Linked DNA regions of Homo sapiens: region 2 is linked to region 1. Evidence: promoter capture Hi-C in human tissues and cell types (Jung and others, 2019). All regions are on one chromosome and are shown on one strand. The core of a region is centred on a gene start or on the middle of the fragment in contact, and the rest is flanking DNA. Distances in the headings are between cores, read along the strand shown. Region 1 holds the start of ZNF713 (zinc finger protein 713). Region 2 overlaps VOPP1 (VOPP1 WW domain binding protein).

Region 1 (6,522 bases), core at 223-2,722:
TGAAATATGTAAAATCTCATTATAACCGGTAGAAACAGATGTACACAATTTTGATGCTGAAGAACACTAACTCTGGGGCCTAGCACAGTGCTGATGCCTGTAATCCCAGCACCTTGGGGGGCCTGAGGAGTAAGAATCCCTTGAGCCCAGGAGTTCAAGACCAGCCTGGACAACATAGTGAGATCCCCATCTCTACAAAAAAGTTTTAAAAATTAGCAGGGCGCAGTGGCTCAGGGCTGCTGTAATCCTGGCTACTGGGGAGGCTGAGGCGGGAGGATGCTTGAGCCCAGGAGTTTGAAGCTGCACTGAGCCATGATGGCACCATTGCCCTCCAGCCTGGGTGACAGAACAAGGCCCTGTCTGAAAAACAAAACAAAATAAAACAAAAAAAACTAACTAACTCCGAACTCCAATTAAGCAAAATGTTACGCCTAAAAAAATTCCATTCTTTGGCCAGGCGCGATGGCTGAAGCCTGTAAACCCAGCACTTTGGGAGGCCGAGGCAGGGGGATCACGAGGTCAGGAGATCAAGACCATCCTGGCTAACACGGTGAAACCCCATCTCTACTAAAAATAAAAATAAAAAAAAAATTAGCTGGGCGTGGTGGTGGCCGCCTGTAGTCCCAGCTACTTGGGAGGCTGAGGCAGGAGAATGGCATGAACCCGGGAGGCGGAGCTTGCAGTAAGCGGAGATCTCACCACTGCACTCCAGCCTGGGCCACAGAGCAAGACTCCGTCTCAAAAAATAAATAAATAAATAAATAAAATAAAATTCCATTCTTCGCATCAGTAGCATATACTATATAATGATATAATGATATCATTATTGTATTTTTTTTTGAGATGGAGTCTTACTCTGCTGCCCAGGCTGGAGTGCAATGATGTGATCTCTGCTCACTGCAACCTCCCCGTCCCGAATTTAAGCGATTCTCCTGCCTCAGCCTCCGGAATAGCTGGGATTACAGGCGCCCGTCACCACGCCCAGCTAATATTTGTACGTTTATTAGAGACGGGGGTTTCACCATATTGGCCAGGCTGGTCTCGAACTCCTGACCTCAGGTGATCCACCAGCCTCAAGCTCCCAAAGTGCTGGGATTACACGCGTGAGCCACCGCGCCCGGCCAATAACATCATCATCATTATATTTTGAGTTTCATCAATATGAAATTGATGGGAAGGAGGGGTGATTCCAGGACTGAAAGGAAGGCTTGTGTCGTCACCATGGAGATGGACAGTCCAACGCTTCTAATTGGCAGGGACGAAGGGACGGGTCCTCGGCCCGTCCCCCTCGTTCCTCTAGGACCGGAAAATTCTGGGAAGGCTCGAGGCCGCGGTCCCCGGGGTCCGCATAGTCCCGATGAAAAACAGACCCGGGAAAGCTGGTGGGAGTCAGGAGCCCCGGCGATGAGGATTGCGATGAAGGAAGCAGGCTCGGAGCGCCGCCAGCGCATGCGTATTGGGGATCTGAGGCCAGCGTCTTGCGCCGCCATTGCGGGGAGGCTGTCCTCAGAGCAGGTCTGGCGCGCCGGTGGCTGGACCGGCCCCAGGAGCCCAGTCACCGGGCGTCATTGGCTCAGGCTGCGGGGCCCTCGGCACCTTCTCCCTCCCGGGTCCACCGCGGCGGCGGCGGCGGCGGCGGCGGCGGCGGCGGCGGCGTCAGGGGGCGGAGCCTGCCGAAGCGCCCTTTGTCTGCGGAGGTGAGTGCGCGCCGGGAGGAGGCGGAGGCGGGAGGCGGAGGCGGGGGGCGGAGGCGGGGGGCGGAGGCGGGGGGCGGAGGCGGGGGGCGGAGGCGGGGGGCGGAGGCGGGGGGCGGAGGCGGGGGGCGGCGGGCGGCGGGCGGCGGGCGGCGGGCGGCGGGCGGCGGCGGCGGCGGGCGGCGGGCGGCGGCGGCGGCGGCGGCGGCGGGCGGCGGCGGCGGCGGGAGGCGGCAGGTGGCGGGAGGGGCGGCCGCTGTCCCCGCTGTCCCCATTCCTGTCACCCGCCCCGTGTCCCTTTCAGATTTTTGGTCTTTTATAGGAAGGTCTTACCCGTTCCAATATTATAAACACATTGTCTTCTACTATCTGGGAATGACTCTGAGGCTGAAGAAAAACTTGCAGTTTATTTTTGGGCAAGCGTCCATAGGTGTCATTTTGGGGGAAAGTTTTTCCTCATCTCAGGATTATGCAAACGTTCGGCTTTATTTTCTTATAATACGTTTAAAGAATTTTTAAAATATTTTCTTTTTCTCCTTTTTATCTGTATTTCATTGAGTATGATATTTGTGGTAAGGGGTTAGGTAGAGATTACCTTTTTCTCTCATTGCCTTGCTGTTATCCGTTGAGTCACTTTTCCACGGAATTGCAGTGACACTTTTATTACATTTTGCAGGCGTGTGTATGCTCAGATGTGTTTCTGTTTATTTATGTTTTTGTTTTGAGACAGGATCTCACTTTATCACCCAGGCTGCAGTGCAGTGGCACCATCATGGCACACTGCAGCCTCAAACGCCTGGGCTCAAGAGCTCCTCCTTCCTCAGCCTCCTCAGTAGCTGGGACCACAGGTGTGCACCACCACGTGCGGCTTTTTGTTGTTGTTGTTGTTGTTAGCGACCAGGTCTCACCATGTTTCCCAGGCTGGTCTCTGAGCGCAAGTGATCCTCCCGCCTTGGCCTCTCAAAGTGCTGGGATTACAGGCATGAGCCACGGCGTTCGGCCAGCTGTTTCTAGATTCTGTCACTGCCCTGACAGTTTCTGCACTGAATACATATACGTACATACATACATAGATTTTTTTCATTTAAAATGTTTAGGCCGGTTGCGGTCCTGTAATCGCAGCACTTTGGGAGGCAGAGGCAGGAGGATCACTTGAGCTCATGAGTTCGAGACCAGCCTGGGAAACATGGCAAGACCCTGTTGCTACAAAAAAAACTAGAAAAATTAACCGGACTTGGTGGTGTGTGCCTGTAGTCCCCAGCCACTCAGGAGGCTGAGGTGGGAAGATGGCTTTGGCCCAGGAGATGAAGGTTGCAGTGAGCCAGTCACTGCACTCCAGCCTGGGCGACAGAATCAGACCTTGTCTCAAAAAATAAAATAAATGTTTTAAGCAAATCCCCCTTAATTGTGTCCTTTCATATAATGATTTTTTTTTTTTTTTGAGATGGAGTTTCGCTCCTGTTGCCCAGGCTGGAGTGCAATGGTGTGATCTCCGCTCACCGCAACCTCTGCCTCCTGGGTTCAAATGATTCTCCTGTCTCAGCTTCCCGATTAGCTGGGATTACAGGCACATGCCACCACACCTGGCTCATTTTTGTATTTTTAGTAGAGACGGAGTTTCATCATATTGGTCAGGCTGATCTCAAACTCCTGACCTCAGGTGATCCGCCCACCTCGGCCTCCCAAGTGCTGGGATTACAGGCGTGAGCCACTGCGCCCGGCCTGATCTATTTCTTTTAACTTAAATTGTGAGGCATTTAAAAGATACAGAAAAGTTTAAAAAAAAATAATTTTTTAAAAGGCAGGTTGGAACACTTAGTAGGTTGTAGCAATTAGTACGTTCTAAATAGATAGTTATTCGGTGATGAATGTTGGTGGAAAGTCACTCTGTTGCTGAAAACTTGCGGCTCCCTGCCGCCATCAGGAAAATGTTCTAGTTCCTTAGTGATGCCCTCAAAGCCCTTTATGATCTTGATATTGCATCTGGCTTTGTCTTACACCCATGCACTTTTTTTTTACCCCCAAAAAAGCAGTTTAATTTGAGTGCAGATTTGTATGTGAATTTCATTAGAAAAGAGGACTATATAAATCTTATGAGTTATAGTTCTTGTAACACGTTGGTGTCATTTTCAACTGATTGGAAATGTCAGCTGTGAAGACCATGCTTTTAATTTTACCTTAGAGTATGCATCTTTGGTGACTGTCATAGCCTGCTCAGTCTGCTGTACAATACTGCAGACTGAGTGCAAACAACAGAAATGTGGTATCTCACAGTTCTAGAGGTGGGAAGTTCAAAATCAAAGTGCCTGCCCTGTTGGTTTCCAGTGAACCTCTCTTCCTGGCTTGCAGAAGGGACTGGCATCTCTCTGTGTCCTCTTCTGCTGGCCTTTGCACTGGGTGCATGCATTCCTGTGCCTCTTCTTCTTATGAGGACACTACTGCTATTGGATTAAGACCCCACCTTTATGACCTCATTTAACTTTAATTACAGGCCCGGCGCAGTGGCTCATGCCTGTAATCCCAGCACTTTGGAAGGCCGAGGCAGGTGGATCACCTGAGGTCAGGAGTTCAAGACCAACTTGGCCAACATGGTGAAACCCCATCTCTAGTAAAAATACAAAAATTAGCCGGGTGTGGTGGTGGGTGCCTGTAATCCCAGCAACTTGGGAAGCTGAGGCAGGAGAATTGCTTGAACCCGGGAGGCAGAGGTTTCAGTGAGCCGAGATCACGCCATTGCACTCCAGTCTGGGCAAGAGAGCGAGACTCTGTCTCCAAAAAAAAAAAAAAAAAATGACAACCTTTAAGGCCCTATTTCCAAATAAAGTCACATTGCGGGTTAGGACTTCAACATACTAATTTGTGGGTGTGGAATATAATTTAGTCCATAACAGTTACAACATCAAAATGAGTTGAAAATTCTAATCTGCTGTAAGATTAAAACTGCCTCAATTAAATCATTATTACAAGAAAAAATGTATCCCTTAAGAGAATTCTAAATAAAGATATAAGAAGAATTATCCTGGTATCACAGATACACAGGAGAATCAAATATTAAGGAGAGGCTGGACGTGGTGGCTTATGCCTGTAATCCCAGCACTTTGGGAGGCCGAGGTGGATGGATCATCTGAGGTCAGGAGTTTGAGACCAGCCTGGGCAACATGGTGAAACCCCATCTCCTAAAAATACAAATATTAGCTGGGCGTGGTGGCACGTGCCTGAGGTAGGAGAATTGTGCTTGAACCCAGGAGGTGGAGGTTGCAGTGAGCCTGGATTGTGCCACGGCACTCTAGCCTGGACGACAGAGTGAGACTCTGTCTCAAAAAAAAAAAAAAGAAAAAAAAATTAAGGAGTGTGCCTACTCCCACACATGCTTGGAACAATTCCTAGCATAGATTAAGGTTTTAAACTATTAAGTTTTGAATGAACACTAAATGAAAAAGTTACTATTTGATTAGTTCATCAGCAAATAAATGTGGACAATTAGAAGTTTATATACAGGAACTAAGAAATAATTCAGTTTCAACATTCTAATATAAATATGAACGAAATTAAAGCTCAGTCTAAATACCTTTCCAAAGTCACATGGTTATTTAATAGAAGAATTGTGTCTCCATTTACGCCTGCAAAATGTAATTTTTATTTCACCCACACTAGTTCATGATATATAATGGTTTGCAGGAACAAAAGTATAATGTGACTTGCAAGGCAAAGTATGAAAATAGAAATCAGGAGAGAAAAGATTAAGAGAAATGATGTCCACTTATTTAATAGAAAAAAAATTAAATCATAGAAATTGTGTCTAGACCAGCCTGGGAAACATGGTGAGACCTGGTCGCTAATAACAACAACAACAACAACAACAACAAAAAGCCACACGTGGTGGTGCGCACCTGTGGTCCCAGCTACTGGGAAGGCTGAGGAAGGAGGAGCTCTTGAGCCCAGGCGTTTGAGGCTGCAGTGTGCCATGATGGTGCCACTGCACTGCAGCCTGGGTGATAAAGTGAGATCCTGTCTCAAAACAAAAACATAAATAAACAGAAACACATCTGAGTATATAAACGCCTGCAAAATGTAATTTTTATTTCACCCACACTAGTTCATGATATATAATGGTTTGCAGGAACAAAAGTATAATGTGACTTGCAAGGCAAAGTATGAAAATAGAAATCAGGAGAGAAAAAAGATTAAGAGAAATGATGTCCACTTATTTAATAGAAAAAAATTAAATCATAGAAAAAAAGTAAATCTCAACTAAGATAGACTGTCATCTATGAATCTAAAGTGGGAAGTAGTAAACCCTTGTTTATAAAAATCACAAGTGGCTGGGTGCAATGGCTTATGCCTGTAATCCCAGCACTTTGAGAGGCCTAGGCAGGCGGATCACGAGGTCAGGAGATCGAGACCATCCTGGCTAACACAGTGAAACCCCGTCTCTACTAAAACTACAAAAAAATTAGCTGGGCCTGGTGGCGGGCGCCTGTAGTCCCAGCTACAGGAGGCTGAGGCTGGAGAATGGCGTGAACCCGGGAGGCGGAGTTTGCAGTGAGCCGAGATCGCGCCGCTGCACTCCAGCCTGGGCGACAGAGTGAGACTCCATCTCAAAAAAAAAAAAAAAAAAAAAAAAAAACCCCAGGAACAACGTGTGAGAGATTTGTGTTCGTGCCATACAGAACCAGGGAAGCTCACTCAAGCTTGGTGTTCAGGGTTTTAATTGGGGACTGGTGTAGGGGTGATCCCTTTTCTCCCTATCATAAGGGTCATGACAGAAAACCCTATAACAAAACACAGGTTAACAAGAGAAAAGCATAACAAGTTTATTTGGTAATAG
Region 2 (6,640 bases), core at 1,514-4,013, 330 kb before region 1:
CCTCACTTTGTGAATCTGTAAAATGAGCGGCAACATGTAGCTTCCAGGGCTACCATGAGGGACACAGTGGGGGTAACCACTAGGACACTGCCCAGCACCTTTTAGGTGCCAGATAAGATCCAGCTCTTAGTGGTCATGCCATTTGGGTCCAGGGTATTGTTCTAAGCAGCCCTTCTCCTTTTCCTAAGTATCAAGAGCTCCTCAGGCATGGGCTCCTCTTCATTTCGCTAGTGCATACCTCATTATTATTGAAAACGGTAGTAGTCATCAATTACCACTGACACAGCAGGAGGCTCTGCTGGGAACATAATTCTTTATGAGAATTTTGAAACAATAAACTAAATTTTGCTCACATAGTTCCTGCTTACAAAAACCTTTCGGGGACTGCAGTATCATAGAGACTGCTTATGCTGGACTCCCTTCAGTGAGCTCTGCTGATGAACACAGCACAAAGCAAATAAATATAAACGAATGAATAACCCCAATAGCCATCAGCAAAACTCACTTGTTTTCTTTTCCATGTGTTCTAAGATGTTTCCCCGTAGATTTCGCCTCTCTAATAACCTGTATATGATAATGAGAACATGGGTATGTGCTGGAAGCCCCTCTGCTGCTTACCTATGAGGGGCCCCAAGCACTCAATGTATGAAACAGAAAGCTGCTGCACTCACCTAGTGTCCCTAAGGGCAGCCTCTGCTCTCTCCCAGCCACCTGCTGAGCTTCCTCTGAGACCTTCTGAGCCCAGCCTGCCACAAAGGACTGGGTGAGTGCAGGCTACCTAGCAAGGCAGGAGGAGGTGGGAGAGACAGGGGTTCAGCCCAGCAGGACAATGACCCTGACTCATTCCACCAGGTCTCAAGGCCACAGTGAGCCTTGCCAGTTCCTTTCTAAGCCATCCTCCAGTTCGCAAACCTGTTCATCCACTTCTGGATTCCATGAGCCAAAATTCTCATCTTCCAAATTTCCACATTCTATTTATAATAAAGACACATTACTTAGGATAACATGATGGAGTTTCTCAGTCTCTTAATAACCAAAATGCATAACGTGAACCAGCAACAGGAACTCCCTCCACGACAGGCCATGATGGAACCTCAAAGAGAAAAATGCTATGATTATATAAACTTCACACATTGGGGCTTTAAGAACATACTCTGAAGTCTGTGAAAACAAATAAACCTAAAAGCTGTTGGAACCCCCCCCCAAAACACTTCAAGCTTTGAGAGAAATGTGACTGTGATCTGAGTCACATATGGTTACAATTTATGTTTCTCAGATTATAGATAACTCATTTTCTTCTTTTTCTTGCTCTGTACATTGACTAAAGGGAAACCATGTCAGGGTCAAAAGCCTCCCGCCCTCTGAATTAATGACCCTTGTTGTAGATTAACTCCCCCTTCATTGCCCTGCTTCGCTTAGACCAGGTGAAAGAAAACCCAGGACTATTACACCCTCTGTTAAGAAAATGTTAAATATCCCCTCCCCAAAAAGAAACATCACCTAGAGCCAATCAAATTGCTATAACATACACACCAACCTTGTATGAATAATGTTGTAATCCTGCTAAAAACTCCACTGTCTCAGCCCACATAAATGAAGCCTTCACTTCCTACTTCGGAAAACTGACTCCATTTCTTCGGAGTTGGTGTTTCTGGGTGGCCTACCTCACACTTTGTACTTATTTAAATGCTCTTTAAATCATATTCTGACCCCTTTCATTATTTTAGGTTGGCAAGTCAATCTGCTGAGGTTTGAATGCTAGGTCCGACTGCAGAAAATCTTGAGAAAGCCCCAGTCTCCTGAGCCACAGTCCACTCATCTGCAAAATGGACAGGAGGGCAGCACGGAGCCTGGGGCAGGGGTGGGAAGGCTGCACAGATGAAACACCATGTGCTTACTTAAAACAATGCTGCCACACAACAAGCACCTGCTAAGTGCTGGTTATCACATTGCCACCATCATCTGGAGAAATAAAATAAGGTTGGAAAGTTTTAAAAAAATACTCAAACATAAGATGTTTCAAAAAAAAAAAAAGGACTTAAAAAAACCCCATATGCTAGCAAGAAGGCTCTTATGTCTGTTTATATTTCAATCGTTGGCTTGACTTCCAATCTGAAAATTCCGATTCTTCAGGACCCATCTAACACCAACCCCACCCAAAATGAGTGCCCCATTAGAAAATACTGGAATATTGTGGGGATGGGAAAAGGAAGGGGCCAAGTAACTCTGCCCAGCCACAACAGAACAAAACACATACATAAGAAAGACATGCTGGATGCTGACTGATTTGCATTTTGTAAGGAGCTGCTGCAACCTACACACAACCACAAGGGCAGGACCGTCCGCAGAGAATGGCAGAATGGAAGGTGGAGCAAATGAGAGGGTGTGTAGAGCCTCTGAACAACTCAGGCCCGGGGCCTCCAACAGGAGGACTCCTAACCATGCCAGATAATGAACTTCCTCCAAGTCTGCACTACTTGAATTGGGTTTCCTATCACTGAGGGCCAAAGACGTTCTAATCAATATGCGGTTTAGTAAGTACTCTGTGGGGCATTGCAAGTACAGACAGACAAGAAAACCCTTCAACAGAGGGTGGAATGGCGTTGCGTGGGGTTGGGAGGAGGGGAAATTAGGTATTTGTCAAAAAGTACAAAGTTTCAGTTATGCAAATCAGTGAGTCCTAGAGGGCTGCTGTGCCACAGAGGTCCTGCAGTTAACACTACTCTACTGTGTACTTAGAAATCTGCTAAGGGGTAGACCTTATGACACACAATAATAATAATAATAATAACCAGACAGCAGGAGGAAACTTTTAGAGGCTTATGGCATAAATTGTGGAGGTGGTTTCATAGGTGCATGCTTATCTCCAAACTCATCAAGCTGTATACATTAATTATGTTCAGCTTGTTGTATGTCAAAAAAAATTAAATACAAAAGAATGAATTTTAAGAAAAAGAATATCCTTCATATTTTTAATATGTTCCTTAAACTTCCATCAGACAACTAAATGAAAACTCATACAAATAATGTGTTTCTCACCTGCTAACCTGTTCAGGTGTGCACACCTGCAGGGGTGACAGATGATGCTTTAATCGGGGAGAGGACCCTGCCACCCCAGAGACACCCTGCTAATGCCAATTCCAATCATCTCTGCTCAGCCTCCAGAGAGCCCAGGCATCCCTGTCCAGAGGCTACTGTGCTGTGTCAGGTGCTGTAAAGTCTCTTCACTTCCCAGATCCACCCACCCATCCATCCATGTCCAACCCCAGGCTCCTTGCAGACAAAGACCCAAAAGACAGAGTAAAAACTTCAGACTACATACAGCCTCAAACACAGCATGGCTACAGGGTGAACACCAAACCCTGGCATCATTATCATTAGTAAAGCTGACTGACAAAGAGCTATTTTAGTGTTCTGAGCCCTCTTCAGCAATAATAACGCAGAGTTGCTAAAAACCAAAGAAGAAAGCAAAGGAAAGGTCAGTGTTCAAGGTTAGCGACAAGATAGCCTCACTGAAAAGTTTAATACCATCCTGCATTTCCTTCTGAAGACCTAATTATATTAATTTTATTTGTGCCCAAAGCTTTGCAAACAACTTGAGCTATATATAAGTCACTAAGTATCCAGTGGATAGTAACGGTTTTTTAGTCTGCTCCCTCATCATCAGAGGGAGCCTCTGATGGCTTCAATGGGAGCCTGAGCCATCCATCAAAACAAGAACCATACACACAACTGAATTCAGATAAACAGGGTGGAGTTTAAAAAGGTACTGATTCTAGTGGTGACAATCATCACTAAATAAATCCACTTCCACTCTTGGCAGCTTCTCTGAATACATCACTAGGTCATGCTGACACTCAGAAAGGGACCAGAGACTCCTAATTAGGATGCCTACCCTTCCCATCTTATGGAGGAAGGTGAGCACTGCCCATTAGCAAGCCCCTGAGAGCAGCCGCTGACCGTGCCATTGGGCCGACCAACAGGCCACCACAGTGGAAGGACTCTAATGCCTGGCTCAGCTGACCAGGGCCCAGATGTCGTGATTTTGAAGTCCAGCTCCTTTTCTGCCAGGAAGTGATAAAAGCATCAATTGTATCAAGTAACCTGTGATCTCAATTTGTCCAAGGCTCTCATTATGAGAGAAAGCCTTCTCCCTATCTGCGATTTAACTTCTCATGCAATTCAGAAAGTCAGAGATGAATCTCAGCTTCCACTGGGGTGACTAGCTATTAATAAAACCAATACATATTTTTCCTGAGTCATTCCACCAAGAACTCAAAGCATAAAACAGACCTACAACCTATGTTAATGACTCCATCCCAACCCAGGGCACATGCAGTGGAACCGGCAAGTTCTCATTCACTCCACTGCCCATGTCAGCCCCACAGAAGAACCTCAGAACGTGGCAATGGAGTATAAAAACCTTTACTGGCCAGGCGCAGTGTCTCATGCCTGTAATCCCAGCACCGCACGAGGCCGTGGCAGGCGATCACCTGAGGTCAGGAGTTCCAGACCAGCCTGGCCAACATGGTGAAACCCCATCTCCACTAAAAATACAAAAATTAGCTGGGGATGGTGGCGCACGCCTGTAGTCCCCGCTACTTGGGAGGCTGAGGCGGGAGAATCACTTGAACCTGGGAGGCAGAGGTTGTAGTGAGCCAAGATCATGCCACTGCACTCCGGCCTGGGGAAAAGAGTGAGGCTCTGTCTCAAACAACAAACGAAAACAAAAAAAACCTTTACAACAGTGATTTCACTAAAATATCCATTTTAAGCAACATTTTTTTTCAACCTTGTGGCAAGCAAAGTAATGCCACCTCCTGCCCACAAAGATGTCATCGTCCTAATCCACAGAACTGGGAATGTCACCTTAGGTGGCAAAAGGGGCTTTGCAGACGTGATTAAGTTAAGGATCTTACAATGAGGAGATTATGCTGGGTAATTCAGGTGGGCCCAATGTAATCTCAAGGGTCTTTACAGTGACAGAGAGAGAGAAGCATGAGAGAAATTAGAAGACACAGAATCGCTGGCTTTGAAGGGGAGGAAGGGACCACCAGCCAAGAAACACAGGCAGTCCCTAGATGCTGGGACAGGCCAGGAAATGAATCCTCCCTGGAGCCTCCAGAAGAAACATGGTCCTGCTGACATTCTTGAATTGAGCCCACTGAGAGCCATTTAGGACTTCTGACCTCCAGAGAGGGAAGATAATAAATCTGGATCGGTTTAAGCCACCAAGTTTGTAGTCACTTGTTATAGCAACAACAGGTAATGAACACAGAGGTCACAGCAAGTTCTTCTCTAGTAGGCCAGTAGCCTCACTCTCCCTTCTCTGCACCTGTCCCATACCCTCACCTCACTCCCATGTCAACCTCTACTTTTTTACCAAATGCCTTGTTCATTTTCCAATCCATCAACCATCTTCTAATTTTACACACTCAAGAAATGACCCTAACATAGCCATCATAACAATAATTCCCCAAAATCCTCTCACTCATGATGCACTGCCATCCCGCGTCAATCCCCAGTCTGGCAGCCACCCTTCTACCTCCCTGCTTCCATGCTGCTTAGGGGGCCAGTCAGGGCAGCTGGCTGTATCCAAGACTGCCCGAAATGCTCACTCTGCACCCCGACCATGGATGCTCTGAGATGCACATGCACAGCTTCCCAGGACCCTCACCACAACCGCTGTGCGACCTTCACCATGACCTGGAGGCCCAGGTCCTTCCCAGCTTATCTCTGTGGCTTACTTCAACGCAAAGTTCCTGACATCCCACCCAGGTCACCAACCTTTCCCCACTGAACTTCAACTCTATGTGCACCTTCCCTCTTGATGACCTCCTTCCTCATCTCCTTCCTCACATCCCCACTCCCCTTCCAAAGCCTAACCTCTACACCCAAGCTCCCAAGCCCATCCCCCTCACTGTGCCAAACCCTTCTGGAACAAACAGGTCCTCTAGGAGCTTAAGGTCTAAAGAATTTACAGACCAGGCCGGGCACGGTGACTCATACCTGTAGTCCCAGCTCTCTGGGAGGCCAAGGCGGGCAGATCACAAGGTTAGGAGTTCAAGACCAGCCTAGCCAATATGGTGAAACCCCGTCTCTACTAAAAATACAAAAATTAAGTGGGCGTGCTGGTGGGCACCTTATGTCCAGCTACTCAGGAGGCCAAGGCAGGAGAGGGGGAGGCGGAGGTTGCAGTGAGCCAAGATCATGCCACTGCACTCCAGCCTGGGTGACAGAGCAAAACTCTGTCTGGAAAAAAAAAAAAAAAAAAAGAAGAAGAATTCACAGACTGCTCCCCTCTTCCAAAAAAAAAAAAAAACAAACAAGCAATTACAGTATCTGAGCTCAGAGCACGTGGGAGTAGCTTGCCTAGGGAGTAGCTTGCCCAAGTCGGGGACTTAACTCATACCCAAGTGGACAATGAGAGTAGCCTTCCATGACACCACCTGAGGGTCTTCAAGTATGGTGGGAGTTGAAACGGCAGTCAAAGGAATGGGAAAACAGGAAGTGAAAGTATGGTGCCTTCAGGACCCACAGTAGTCGGTTCAGTCTGCTGTACTGGATGAAGACTTCTGATCCTCATCTATGCATCAGAAGCAATGTGCATCTGTTAAAAAATAAAGATGACTAGGCTCCA

Evidence for each region. Contacts are between HindIII fragments. The study calls those that stand out against the background at their distance.
Region 2: a fragment that was not itself captured here is called in contact with the fragment with the promoter of ZNF713 in region 1 in 1 of the 25 tissues and cell types used here (pancreas).

Annotation. Positions count from the first base shown.
Region 1 is chr7:55,885,984-55,892,505 of GRCh38, forward strand. It overlaps ZNF713 (zinc finger protein 713), which reads left to right and starts at 1,473. Exons shown (of 7, transcript NM_182633.3): 1 at 1,473-1,697. RefSeq lists an enhancer at 1,164-1,503 and a silencer at 1,624-1,673. The HindIII fragment of the contact is 16,372 bases long and covers 1-6,522 here.
Region 2 is chr7:55,555,442-55,562,081 of GRCh38, forward strand. The region is part of intron 1 of VOPP1 (VOPP1 WW domain binding protein); the gene reads right to left. Among named protein-coding and RNA genes, the nearest start is that of VOPP1, 14 kb to the right of the region's middle. RefSeq lists enhancers at 1-336, 6,341-6,390, 6,471-6,530, 6,561-6,610. The HindIII fragment of the contact is 4,785 bases long and covers 372-5,156 here.